Regions from separate parts of the Homo sapiens genome. Here all the other regions are linked to region 2. Evidence: promoter capture Hi-C in 16 types of primary human blood cells and fetal thymus (Javierre and others, 2016). All regions are on one chromosome and are shown on one strand. The core of a region is centred on a gene start or on the middle of the fragment in contact, and the rest is flanking DNA. Distances in the headings are between cores, read along the strand shown. Region 1 has its middle 30 kb from the start of ARPIN-AP3S2. Region 2 holds the start of MESP1 (mesoderm posterior bHLH transcription factor 1). Region 3 has its middle 18 kb from the start of ZNF710.

Region 1 (4,437 bases), core at 1,145-3,644, 190 kb after region 2:
AAAAAAAGAAAAAAAAAAACAAATGAACTGTACCCAGTGACAGTGTGGTGACATCTCACAATATCAGAGATAAAAGATAAGTCTTGGAGTGGGTTGTGGCGGCATGCGCCTGTAATCCAAGCTATTTGGGAGGCTGAGGCGGGAAGACCACTTGAGGCCAGGAGTTCAAGACCAGCCTGGGCAACATAGTGAAACACCCATCTCTAAAAATACTTTTTTAAAGAAATCCTTCCTTAAGAGAGGAAAAACAGATCAACTAAAAAGGGACAAAAAATTGGATTGGCATCAGCTCTTCTTTTGGTAACACTGGATGCAAGAAGATAATGACAAAGTCTGAGGGGGAAAAAACGTTTATTTTTATTTTTCTTATTATCTTTTTTGAGATGGAGTTTCACTCTTGTTGCCCAGGCTGGAGTGCAATGGTGCAATCACGGCTCACTGCAACCTACACCTCCCGGGTTCAAGCAATTCTTCTGCCTCAGCCTCCCGAGTAGCTGGAATTACAGGCATCTGACACCATGCCCGGCTAATTTTTGTATTTTTAGTAGAGACGGAATTTCACCACATTGGCCAGGCTGGTCTTAAACTCCTGACCTCGGGTGATCTGCCCACCTCGGCCTTACAAGGGGGAAAAACATTATGAGCCCAGAAATCTATCCCCACATATACTATCCACCAAGTGGAGAACAAAACACGTCCATTTCAGACCTTTGAGATCTAAAACTTTTTTTTCTTTTTTTTTTGAGACAGAGTCTCGCTCTCGTTGCCCAGGCTAGAGTGCAGTGGCGTGATCTTGGCTCACCGCAAACTCCGCCTCCCGGGTTCAAGTGATTCTCCTGCCTCAGCCTCGCGAGTAGCTGGGACTTCAGGCGCACACCACCACACCCGGCTAATTTTGTATTTTTAGTAGAGACGGGGTTTCTCCATGTTGGTCAGGCTGGTCTCGAACTCCCAACCTCAGGTGATCCACCCGCCTCGGCCTCCCAAAGTGCTGGGATTACAGGCATGAGCCACCGCGCCCGGCCAAGATCTAAAACATTTTACCAGCCAAGAACCACATATGAAAGAATTATTAGAGGATGTGTTTCAACAAGAAAAATTAGGAATTTGTGGCAGACAGACACTAAGAGGGTCCCCAGTGATCCCCACCTGTTGGTGTTCACTCCCTTGTGTAATGCCCTCTCCATGAGTGTAGGTGGGCCTGTGACTTGCTTCTAGCCGATAGGAGACAGCAAAAGTTCTGGCTTCTATTTTGCTAGAAAATTTTCTCCTTTGCTTACTCAGAGGACCCAGCTGACATGTTGTGAGCTACCCTATGGAGATATCCATATTGCAAAGGCCCAAGGGAAGCCTCCAGCCAACATCCAGCTAGGAACTGAGACCCTGAGGCCAACAGCCCTGAATAAACTAAATTCTGAATCTTTCCCCAGTCAACCCTTTGGAGGAGAGCCCAGCATTGATTGCAGCCTCAAAAGACCCTGAATCAGAGGGCCCAGCTAAGCTATGCTTGCATCCTGGCCCAGGAAAACTGTGAAATAATACATGTTTCTTTTTTGTTGTTGTTGTTGTTTTTTACCTGAGACAGAGTCTTACTCTGTCAACCAGGCTGGAGTGGAGTGGTGCAATCACAGTTCACTGCAACCTCCTCCTCCTGGGCTCAAGCGATCCTCCCACTTCAGCCTCCTGAGTAGCTGGGACTACAGGTGCACACCACCCTGCTCAGCTAATTTTTGTATTTTTTGTAGAGACAGGAATTTTGCCTTGCTGCCCAGGCTGGTCTTGAACTCCTGAGCTCAAACGACCCACTGGGCTCGGCCTCCGAAAGTGCTGGGATTACAGGAAGGAGCCACAGCGCCCAGCCATATTTTGTTTTAAGCCACTAAATATTGATAATTTTTTGTTTTGTTTTGTTTTTGTTTGAGACAGAGTCTGACTCTGTCGCCTAGGCTGGAGTGCAGTGGCGCGATCTCAGCTCACTGCAACCTCCAACTCCCTAGTTCAAGTGATTCTCCTGCCTCAGCCTCCTGAGTAGCTGAGATTACAGGCACGTGCCACCACGCCCAGTTAATTTTTGTACTTTTAATAGAGATGGGGCTTCACCATGTTGGCCAGGATGGTCTCGATCTCCTGACCTTGTGATCCGCCCGCCTCAGCCTCCCAAAGTGCTGGGATGACAGGCATGAGCCACCATCCCTGGCCAAATATTGATAATTTTTAATGCAGCAATTGATAAGACAGAATCCAAGAGGGAGATGTGAGATATAAGGAGTGGTGGGTAAAGAAGCCAGTAAAACTTTTTGATGTCCAAGAAGGTGTGGATTAAAAATAAACAAAACAAAACTCTGCAATGGGAATCTCTGATTATTTCAACATGGGAGGTGGGAAGAGGAGAATAAATGAAAGAGGGAAGAAAGAGAGTAAAAGATTTCTTGTTTTATTTGAAGGTACGATATAGATTCTTATTAAAATCTAGAGGTTGATATATAAATACATTGTAAATATTTATTTATTTATTTATTTATTTATTGAGACCGAATCTTGCTCTGTCACCCAGGCTGGAGTGCAATGGTGCAATCTTGGCTCACTGCAACCTCTGCCTCCCAGGTTCAAGCGATTCTCCTGCCTTAGCCTCCCAAATTGCTGGGACTACAGGCGTAAACCACCACGCCCAGCTAATTTTTGGGTATTCAGTAGAGACGGGGTTTCACCGTGTTGGCCAGGCTGGTCTCAAATTTGTGACCTCAAGTGATCCGCCTGCCTCAGCCTCCCAAAGTGCTGAGATTACAGGCGTGAGCCACCGCACCCAGCCAATTGTAAATATTTACATAAAAATTTCAGGGTAGAGAACTTCCTGAAAAAACAATTAAATTATGGTAAAGTATTGTTTAAGAGACATATACCCATAAAGAAGTGGAGAATGGTGGAGAGGACAATAGTAAGACAATAAATAGATGGACGGCTGGTAAATGATGCAGCATACCCAGGAAGACTGAGTCCTAGAGCAGGAGTTGGAGGCAGATATACTGCAAAGAAAGGATACCATAGAAAAGGAACATTCAGGAATTTTCTGAAGATGAGTTTTTGGAAATTAAAAACATGACGGTAGAAATGAAAAGTTGGAATTGAAGTGGAGGAAATCTCCCAGAAAATAGAGCAAAGAGACAGAGACAAAGAGATGGAAAATAGAAGAGAAAATAGAAAATAAAATCAAGCCTGGCATGGTAGCTCACACCTGTAATCCCAGCACTTCAGGAGGCCAAGGCGGGCAAATCACCTGAGGTCAGGAGTTCAAGACCAGCATGGCCAACATGGTGAAACTCCGTCTCTACTAAAAATACAAAAACTAGCTGGGTGTGGTGGCACATGCCTGTAATCCCAGTTACTCAAGAGGCTGAGGCAGGAGAATCACTTGAACCTGGGAGGTAGAGGTTGCAGTGGGCTGAGATCACCACTGAGATCACACCACTGCACTCCAGCCTGGGCGGCAGAGTGAGACGCCATCTCAAAAAAAAAACAAAAAAAATTAGCCAGGCATAACGGCACACACCTGTAGTCCCAGCTACTTGGAAGGCTGAGGCAGGAGAATCATTTGAACCTGGGAGGCAGAGGCTGCAGTGGGCCGAGATCGTGTCATTGCACTCCAGCCTGGGCAACAGAGCAAGACTTTGCCAAAAAAAAAAAAAAAAAAAAAAAAAATCAATACAGGAGGTCCACTGGTCAAATAATAAGCAGTTAAGAAAGAAGAAACAGAGAAAGTGGAGGTGGGGAAGTTTATTTTCAAAGCAATTTAATTTGATAAAAATTTCCAGAATTTTTACCATGATGCGCAGCACTGCTATGAAGTCTGTGTAGTTAAGAACACATTATCATTGTTCAGCTCATGCTTTATCTCTTTCGTTTTGTTTACTTTGATTTGCTTATGTGTGCATTTATGCATGCATTTATTTATATAATGAACCCTCATTTGAATCCACAGCCCAACTAGCCAATAATATCCATGGGCTTCTTGCCTTTCCCATCTCCCAGCCTCCCCCAACTAAAGATAACCACCATCCTAAATTTGGTGTTTCTTCTTCTTCTTCTTTTTTTTTTTTTTTTTTTTTTTAAGTATTTCATTTTATGAGTCAGGGTCTCACTCTGTCACACACACTGGAATTCAGTGGTGTGATCATAGCTCACTGCAGCCTCCACCTCCTGGGCTTAAGCAATCCTTCCACCTCAGCCTCCAGAGTAGCTGGGACTACAGGTGTGCACCACCACGCACAGCTAATTTAAAAAAATTTTTTTTGGTAGGAAGGAATCTTGCTATATTGCCCAGACTGATCTTGAAATCATGGCCTTAAGTGAGACACAGCATCAGGCCCTTTTGGTTTTTAAAAACAGCTTCATCACATTTATAGGGGCCTGAACAATGAATTGTTTCCTTTCACTTGGTTT
Region 2 (4,691 bases), core at 185-2,684:
TCTTCTTTGGAGGGAGAGAGGGAGCTCTGTGTCCACGGGTAGGAAGAAGAAATTGCCAACTGACACCAGTACAGTTTATTCACAAATAAATAAATTCACATTAGGCAGAGCCTCCTGCTTGCCTCAAAGTGTCTAGCCCTATGGGTCCCTCCATGGAGGGAGGGGCTGAGAAGGGCCGCCGCGGTGGGGACGGCTCTCACCCGCAGGAATGCCCCCGTCGGGATCGCCCGTGCCCTCTTCCAGGAAAGGCAGTCTGCCAAGGAACCACTTCGAAGGTGCTGAGGCCAAAAAGCCTCGGTGCTCACAGAGACGGCGTCAGTTGTCCCTTGTCACTTGGGCTCCTCAGGCAGCCACTCCAGAGGCGAGAGGGGCATCCAGGTCTCCAACAGAGCCAGCACGTCGCCCGGAAGGAGCTGTAGGGAGAGACGGAACAGCGCAGCCCTCAAGCACTGGTGGCCTTGTGCGGGTGTCCGCGCTCGTGGGCTCCACTCTCAGGGGGCCCCTAGCGAGGGGAGACCCAGTCCTCTGCGTGGCCTTTCCCTGCCTTCGCTTCTTGGAGCCCTGGGCATACTATGGTGGCCAGGTGGCCAGGCTGCCGGCGGGGAGCAGCAGGGTGCCTGGTCCTCACCTTGGCGGGCGGTGGGGCTGTGCGCGGGGGCACGGACGAAGGGGGCGCGGGGAAGGGGACACTAACCGGGGACGGTGGGCTTGGCTCCATCGCCTGCCCTTCAGGGCACGCCGCCTCGGCGAACAGCGCAGGCGGGTCGCGCGGCTCGGGTGCAGCTCGGGCTCCGGGGCAGGCAGGCGGGGATCCCCAGGACGCCCCGGCGCGGACGGCGGATACCAGGCCCAGCCCGCGCCCCTGCCCCTGCCCCTCAGCCTGCGTCCGTGTCTGCATCTGCGCGGGGCAGTCGTCGGGGCACAGCGGGCAGCCCCGAGGGGACCCCGCGTCACCGCGCTGCCGGCACCGGCGCTGGAGACTCTCCTCGCTGAGGCCTAGCACGGCCGACAGGTGGCCGATATAGCGGATAGCCAGGCGCAGCGTCTCGATCTTGGTCAGGCTCTGGCCCGCGGGCGCCACGGACGGCGGTAGAAAGCGGCGCAGCTCGTGCAGGGCGCGGGCCAGCGTGCGCATGCGCAGTTTCTCCCGCTCACTGGCGCTCTGCCTCTGCCCGCTGCCCAGGCGGCTGCTGCGCGCGCCGCGCCTACCTACGGAGGGGGCGCGGGGGTCCCGGAGGGTGCCTGGCCGCGCGGGGCTCGCCACGGGGCTGTCGGCTGGGGTGCTGCCCCATGAGTCTGGGGACGAGACGAGGGAGCGGCCGCAGTCCTTGTCGGAGGGCGGCGGCCGCCGAGTTGGGCCCCAGGCCGCAGAGAGCATCCAGGACTCGGAGAGCGGCGGGCACAGGGGCTGGGCCATGGCAGCGGCGGCGCGTCTGGGGGCCGGCGGCCGGCGGCCGCTTTATGCCGAGCCCGAGGTGTGAAGTGGCCCCTTCCAGGCCGCATCAGCACATCAAAGTGGGCTCGGGGCTTGGAGGGGGCGGAGCCTGACCCTTTGAATCCACGGCGGGGGGCCAAGGTGCCAGCCCCTTGACTGCGCCTGTTTCGCCCCACCTGGGCCCTCGCTTGGGCGCCCGACCCAGCCTCTCGGCCTTCCCGCCTGCGCCCAGTGTTGGGTGAAGCCCGGGGCGTTGGGCCAGCCCTGCAGGTTAAAGGAAGCGGGGTCAGAAAAACGAAATCTAGATCCTAGGTTTGGGGCCTGCCTTCACCTGTTGGGGACCTTATGCAAATTCTTAGTTCTTTTGCACCTTAGCTTCCAATTTGTATAATGAGAGCCTCAGGGCATGCGCCAATTGGACAGTGGAGTAGAGTAAGGACCAGGAGCAGGGACCCTCATTCCCTCTAAAGGTGGAGAAAACAGTAAACCACTTCTCCTTTGAGGCAGGATGGCCCTGGGTAGACCCTTCCCTGGTAAGAACATGTGGACAGTGCAAGGAAGCTTGCACCCCGGCAAATTCAATAAGCTGCCGAGTCTGGTCAGGATGCTGGACCTTCTGAGCAGAGGGAGGGGGTTAAGCCTGCTCCAACCCCAGGCCACCTCTAGCCTGGCAAGGTCTGGAGCTTGGCCTGTTGCCACAGCTGTCACCACTGGCCTTTACCTGATGTTCTGCCGCTATTGGACAGGTATAACAGGTTTTCCCAATGAAATGTGAGTGGAAATGACGCAGCAAAGGCATTTGACAAAATCCAACACCCTTCGTGATGAAAATTCTCAGCAAACTAAGAATAGAGAGGAATTTCATCAACCTGATGAAAGGCTCCTACAAAGAACCTACAGGTAGCCTCATACTGAGTAGTGAAAGACTGAAATCTTCCCCCCACCCCCCGATTGCAGGAACAAAGCGAGGGTGTCTCTCTTACCACTCCTATTCAACATTGTACCAGATGGAGGATCTAGGCTATGCAATTAGGAAACAAAAGACATACAGGTCAGAAAGGAAGAAATAAAACTCTTTTCGCAGGTTATGGCAGCTCTGGGCCCTGCTGCGCATGAGCCTGACCAATTTAAAGCGGAATCCTGGCTCCAGGAAACCCATGAGACGACCAAAAGGTCGGAGAAGAGGTAGAAAATGCGGCAGAGGCCATAAAAGAGAAAGGCAGAGAGGAAACTGGCTCTGCTGGGCTTTGGGGATGGCCAGACTCTATTTTACATCGGAATCCCAAAATACAGATTTAATGAAGGACTTAGCTTCAGACACCAGTATCAACCTTTAAGTATCAATAGACTGTAATATGTTACTGATTTGGGTCGTGTTGATCCTACTCAACCTATTGACTTAACCCAGCTTGTCAATGGAAGAGGTGTGACCATTCAGCCACTTAAAGAGGATTATGGTGTTCAGCTGGTCGAAAAGGCCGCAGACACCTTTCAGGTGAAAGTTAATATTGGGCCGGGCGCGGTGGCTCACACCTGTAATCCCAGCACTTTGGCAGGCCAAGGGGGGTGGATCATGAGGTCAGGAGATTGAGACCACCCTGGCCACCGTGGTGAAACCCCGTCTTATTAAAAATGCAAAAATTAGCCAGGCATGGTGGCACGTGCCTGTAGTCCCAGCTACTTGGGAGGCTGAGGTAGGAGAATCACTTGAACCCGGGAGGTGGAGGTTGCAGTGAGCTGAGATCATGCCACTGCACTCCAGTCTGATGACAGAGTGAGACCCCCTGTCCAAAAAAAAAAAAAAAAAAAAAAAAGTTAATATTGAAGTACAGTTGGCTTCAGAACTAGCTATTGCTGCAATTGAAAAAAATGGTGGTGGTGTCACTACAGCCTTACAGGATCCAAGAAGTCTGGAAATTCTATCCAAACCTGTTCCATTCTTTTTGGAGACAACCCATTCCAAAAAGAATGCTTCCTTCTGAAGCACTGGTACCATATTCCACCAATGCAAAGAATCGTGGGAACCTGGCAGATCCTGCCAAATTTCCTGAAGCACAACTTGAGCTTGCCAGGAAGGACAGTTCTAATTTACTGGATATCACGAAAGAAGAACTCTTCAAATGTTCAGTACTCAGAAGGATCCAAGGCAGATTTTCTTTGAGTTTGCTCCAGGATGGGTGCTGAATATAGTAGATAAGAAAATCCTAACATCTACAGATGAAAATCTCCTCAAGTACTAGAGCTCATGAATTCCCATCCAAGAAAGCAGAGTTGTTAAAGAATATTAGAAAAGGGCCAGGCACAATGGCTAACACCTGTAATCTCAGCACTTTGGGAGGCCGAAGAGGGTGGATCGTGAGATCAGGAGTTTGAGACCAGCCTGGCCAACATGGCGAAACCCCGTCTCTACTAAAAATACAAAAATTAGCCAGGCATGGTGGCAGACGCCGGCAATCCCAGCTACTCGGGAGGCTGAGGCAGGATAATCGCTTGAACCCGGGAGGCGGAAGTTATGGTAAGCCAAGATCGCTCCATTGCACTGCAGCCTGGATGAAATTTCACCTGGCCCCTCAGGAGTTTGAGTTTGCACCCTGGTCTTAATAGGTACTTCGTGCATGGCTATCTGCTCTCCAGCCAGACTGTGAAGTACCTGGTGTCTGGGTGTCTGGCATCATATCTTTACCTGTTTTCAAGCGGAATGGTTTCTTTCAGTGCCAGATGTCTGATTTTTTTTTTTTTTTTTTTTTTTGAGACAGGGTCTGGCTCTGTCGCTCAGGCTGGAGTGCTGTGGCGCAATCTTGGGTCACTGCAACCTCCGCCTCCTGGCCACATTGAAAGACAAAGAATTTTCTTGAATCACATATAAAATACAGTAATGAGGCTGGGCACCATGGGATCAAGCCAGTAATCCTAGCACTTTGGGAGGGCGAGGCAGGGGGATCACTTGAGGTCAGGAGTTCGAAACCAGCCTGGCCAACATGATGAAACCCTGTCTCTACTAAAAATACAAACAATTAACCTGGTGTGGTGGCGCATGCCTGTAGTCCCAGCTCTCGGGAGGCTGAGGCAGGAGAATCGCTTGAACCTGGGAAGTAAAGGTTGCAGGGAGCTGAGATTGTGCCATTGCACTCCAGCCTGGTGACAGAGCAAGATTCTGTCTAAAAAAAGAAAAAAAAAATACACTAATGATAGCTACTGCACTAACAAAATTGCAAAAAAAAAAAAAAAAACTCATAATGTTTTAAGGAGTTTACGG
Region 3 (4,373 bases), core at 1,631-4,130, 230 kb after region 2:
GGAGCAAGACACCAACTATGAATCTGGTGCTTGCTACACTCTGATACTCCCTTCCACTTGGCCCCCACAGCCCCTGTATCAGTGAATCCCTGCTTCCTCGAACATCTTCTTCCTGGCTTGGATGTCCAATCAAATCCCGCCCCCTACCAGTTCCTTCATTATTAGAAAACAACTTTGCAGTCTCTATTTGACTGGGCGATTGAAGCCTGCACGTCTGTTCATTCATTCATTTCACAGTATTGATTGAGCACTGGGACTCGGAGGTTTGAAGGAAGATATGGTCCCTATCCTTTTGGAACCGCAAGCCAGGATGAGAGGGGCAGGACACACAGTGTTATAAACAATTAAATAGTTACTAGTGCACAAAATGCTGCCATGAAGTTTGGGGAGCTATGGTAGGGGCTTACCAGTGAGAAAAAGAAAAATAGCTCAGAGCAGTCCGAGCTATGTGAGGTATGCAAAATTTATCAGGTCTAGAGAGACAGGACTATGGGATTTCAGTCCTGCATCCCATGCCCATGGGATGGGGTCACCCATGCCCAGCGGCAATTGTTCAATGACATTTTGTTCTTTCTTTTCTCCCTTGTAATTTCCTGACTAGCCGCCTCACCCATTATCTTCATGTTCCTGAAATTTGTGATACAAAGAGCAATGTATAGCCAATTAATAGCTATGTTCTTCTTTTCTTTTTTCTTTTTTTTTTTTTTCTTGAGACAGAGTCTCACTCTGTCGCCCAGGCTGGAGTACAGCAGCGCCATCCTCGGCTCACTGCAACTTCCACCTCCCAGGTTCAAGCAGTTCTCCTGTCTCAGCCTCCCGAGTAGCTGGGACCACAGATATGTGCCACCATGCCCGGCTAATTTTTGTATTTTTAGTAGAGACAGGGTTTTACCATGTTGCCAAGACTGCTCTTGAACTCCTGGCCTCTTGTAATCCACCCTCCTCGGCCTCCCAAGGTGCTGGGATTACAGGTGTGGGCCACCGGCGCAGGGCTGCCATTATTTTCATGCAAATTCTTGGTAAACAATTTAGGAACTGCCTCTTTGTTTTTCATTTAAAAACCCACTAGTTGCTATAACCACTGAGTACTAAAACAAACAAACACACAACAACAACAACAACAAAACCCACCTGTAACTTCTGCTAATCAGAGTGTATATTCAGGGCAACTTGAATCTATGCTCCCAAGTTGCAGTTTCCAAACTAGCCCCAGATAAATTCTCTACTTGTATTAATTTGCCTCAGTTTCTTTCTGTAAGTTAACGTATCTGGCACAGATCCACAGGATTCAGAGTGACCGCCACTGACTACCCAGTGTTCCCTCTGAGACTCAGTGCTGGGTGCCAGCCTCACTCTATTGTGTTCCTTTGACTCCAGTAATTTCAAACCCTCTCTTTCATTTAAGAATCAGGGCTTTGGTCTCTGTCTCTACACAGAAGATTCAGGAAAAGAGCTCTGCTGAGGACTTCTGCCTTCTCCAACTCTGCTTCAGGGCAAAAGGATCCAGTTATCGGCTGTCAGGTGCTGGTGGTTTCACCTCTCTTGGCAGAAAATAATGTAGCATTGCTTTTAAAATTGCAGCCCTCCTATTGATTGTAATTCAGACTTGTCTTTGAATTTCTGACTAATTCCCGTTCCAAACTGAAAGATGCATGAAGGTAAGTTGTCTTTGTGGGTTTATTTATTTATTTGAGACGGAGTCTCGCTCTGTCGCCCAGCTGGAGTGTAGTGGTGTGATCTCCACTCACTGCAACCTCCGCCTCCCTGATTCTGGTGATCCTCCTACCTCAGCCTCCCGAGTAGCTGGGATTACAGGCGCCTGCCATCAAACCCGGCTAATTTTTGTATTTTTGATAGAGATGGGGTTTCACCATGTTGGCCAGGCTGGTCTGGAACTCCTGACCTCAGGTGATCTGCCCACTTCCGCCTCCCACAGTGCTGGGATTACAGGTGTGAGACACCACACCTGGCTTTGGCATCCATTTTTAATCTTCTTCTAATACACCCAAACTCCCTGAAAATGTTTAAATTCTCTCTGTGCATTGAGATGCAAGTTTGCTACTCTGTTTTCTCAAAAACTTGACAAGGGCTTCAATAAGCTTTAACTTACTCCATTTAACAAGGCACAATTTAATCCAACTGTCCTTTTAAACTAGTGAGTTTTACCAGTTTTATGGCTAAAACTTTAAGTAAAAGCATTAACATCATTATTTTTGTGTCTGTGTAGGTTTTTTTTGTTTGTTTGTTTTGGATTTTTTGTTTGTTGGTTTTTTGAGACAAAGTCTCACTGTGTCACCCAGGCTGGAGTACCTTGACTTTCTGGGCTCAGGCAGTCCTCCCACCCTAGCCTCCCAAGTAGCTGGGACAATAGATGAGCACCACCCACACCCAGCTGATATTTTTAAAAATTATTTTTGTAGAGATGGGATCTCCTTATGTTGGCCAGGCTAGCCTCAAATTTTGGGCTCAAGTGATCCTCCAGCCCCAGCCTCCCAAAGTGCTGCGATTACAAGCATGAGCCACCCACCTGGCCTGTCTGTATTTTTTATGTATACAGCATACATGTCTTTGTTTGTATACTGTCTACATGGTTCCAAGTTGACTTGTAATAAATGAATGTTCATAAATTAAATACGTAAATCCAAATGCCTTTCTTCTCTCCCTTTCTTTCTTTCTTTCTTTCTTTCTCTTTCTTCCTTCCTTTCTTTCTTTCTTTCTTTCTTTCTTTCTTTCTCACTCTCCTTCCTTCCTTCCTTCTTTCCTTCATTCTTTCTTTCTTTTGTTCTTTCTTTTTTTGAGACAGGGTCTCACTCTGTCACGCAGGCTGGTATGCAGTGATGTGATCATAGCTTGCTGCATCTTTGAACTTCTGGGCTCAAGTGATCCCCTGCTTCAGCCTCCTGAGTAGCTAGGACTACAGGTACATGCCACCATGCCTGGCTACCAAATGCTTTTTAAGTTCATGTGACTTTAGTCATCTTTTATAAATAAAACTAGTTTTAAAATCGTTGGTAATATGAAATTAGGATTTTTCAGAATTGTCGGTATTAAATATAGTTAAGACATTTTTGCCTGGGTCTATGGGTTGGACGGGTTTTACTGTCTTTGCTAGATATTTTAAGGTCATACAGCTGTTGCTTCTGTAATTTTTTTATACTTTCTTGATTTATTTGTGAGCTAAAGCTGTGTGAGTGGCTGCTAGGCTTCCCTGAAGCATTGCATACATCTTACTGTGAGCTTCCGTCTTTGGTTTTGCACCTTTAGAGTCTGGATTCTACACAGGTGGCCATAGTAAGCCCTGAAGACATATGTATGTCTATAGCACCTAAGCCACCAGTGACAGGGCAGAGACAAACCCAATATGTCCTCCCTGGCCCAGCTGTGTTTCCTACCCATGTGGGAAAGGGTCAGATCCTCCAGGCATTGTCTTCACAGCTCCATCCTAAGCTCTACACCTGGCATATAAATTCAGGATCGAGATGGGCTCGCCCTTCATTGCCATCCTTGGTGCCACATGGGTACTTGGGACCCAAGATGACTGAGGAAGACACTGGGGAGGGTACTTGTATATTATAAGTCATCTTATCTTAAATTAATGAATATGTAATCATAAAATGTCTAAGTCATTTCTAAGTAAGTTAAAATACTGAAATATTAAACATAAGCTTATGTACTTGGGCATCTTATTTCTTTCTTTTCTTCTCTTTTTTTTTAGATAGAGTCTTGCTCTGTCACCCAGGCTGGAGTGCAGTGGCACAATCCCAACTCACTGCAACCTCACTTCCCTGGCTGAAGCGATCCTCCCACCTCAGCCTTGCAAGTAGCTGAGACCACAAGCATGCACCACCACGCCCAGCTAATTTTTTGTTTTTTGTAGAGATAAGATTTCACTATGTTGCCCAGGCTGGTCTTGAACTCCTGAGTTCAAGTGATCCATCTGCCTCAGCCTCCCAAAGTGCTAGGATTACAGGCCTGAGCCGCCATGCCTGGGCAGCATCTCATTTTCATATGGTATAGAAAAGCTAAAATACATTTAGATCGGTTAATAAACAAAAAAAATGAAGTAACATCTTCCTAAAAAGTTATGAAATGGTTTTCATCTATAAATAATGATATAAAATAGTTCAAAATAACTTATAGGTTTTTCACTAGAAACTAAGGTTACTAAGAGATAAAATTGTAGTTAATATGTGGAATTAAAACTACTAGTTCTAAGAGAAGCAATTATTTATACAGAACATATCAGAAAAATAGGATGTGTTTTTGGCAAAGAAGATTGTAAAGAAGGCATGACAGTGTGGTTTTTGTTCAAGGAAAAGTAATTTTGTCTGGGATTTTTTTTCTTTTTTTTTTAGGGACAGGATCTTGCTTTG

The links. Contacts are between HindIII fragments. The CHiCAGO score rates a contact against its expected background, and 5 or more counts as called.
Region 1: a contact is called between a fragment that was not itself captured here and the fragment with the promoter of MESP1 in region 2, in 1 of 17 cell types (M2 macrophages). The highest score is 5.2, in M2 macrophages.
Region 3: a fragment that was not itself captured here is called in contact with the fragment with the promoter of MESP1 in region 2 in 7 of 17 cell types (endothelial precursors, M2 macrophages, M1 macrophages and 4 more); the score reaches 9.7 in endothelial precursors.

Annotation. Positions count from the first base shown.
Region 1 is chr15:89,940,433-89,944,869 of GRCh38, forward strand. No RefSeq gene overlaps it. Among named protein-coding and RNA genes, the nearest start is that of ARPIN-AP3S2, 30 kb to the left of the region's middle. The HindIII fragment of the contact is 9,566 bases long and covers 1-4,437 here.
Region 2 is chr15:89,749,815-89,754,505 of GRCh38, forward strand. It overlaps MESP1 (mesoderm posterior bHLH transcription factor 1), which reads right to left and starts at 1,435. Exons shown (of 2, transcript NM_018670.4): 1 at 695-1,435; 2 at 61-413. The coding sequence starts at 1,417. The coding sequence ends at 330. It also overlaps the pseudogene MRPL15P1. RefSeq lists silencers at 706-995, 1,056-1,485. The HindIII fragment of the contact is 7,264 bases long and covers 1-1,994 here.
Region 3 is chr15:89,981,495-89,985,867 of GRCh38, forward strand. No RefSeq gene overlaps it. Among named protein-coding and RNA genes, the nearest start is that of ZNF710, 18 kb to the right of the region's middle. RefSeq lists an enhancer at 743-1,464. The HindIII fragment of the contact is 1,566 bases long and covers 2,098-3,663 here.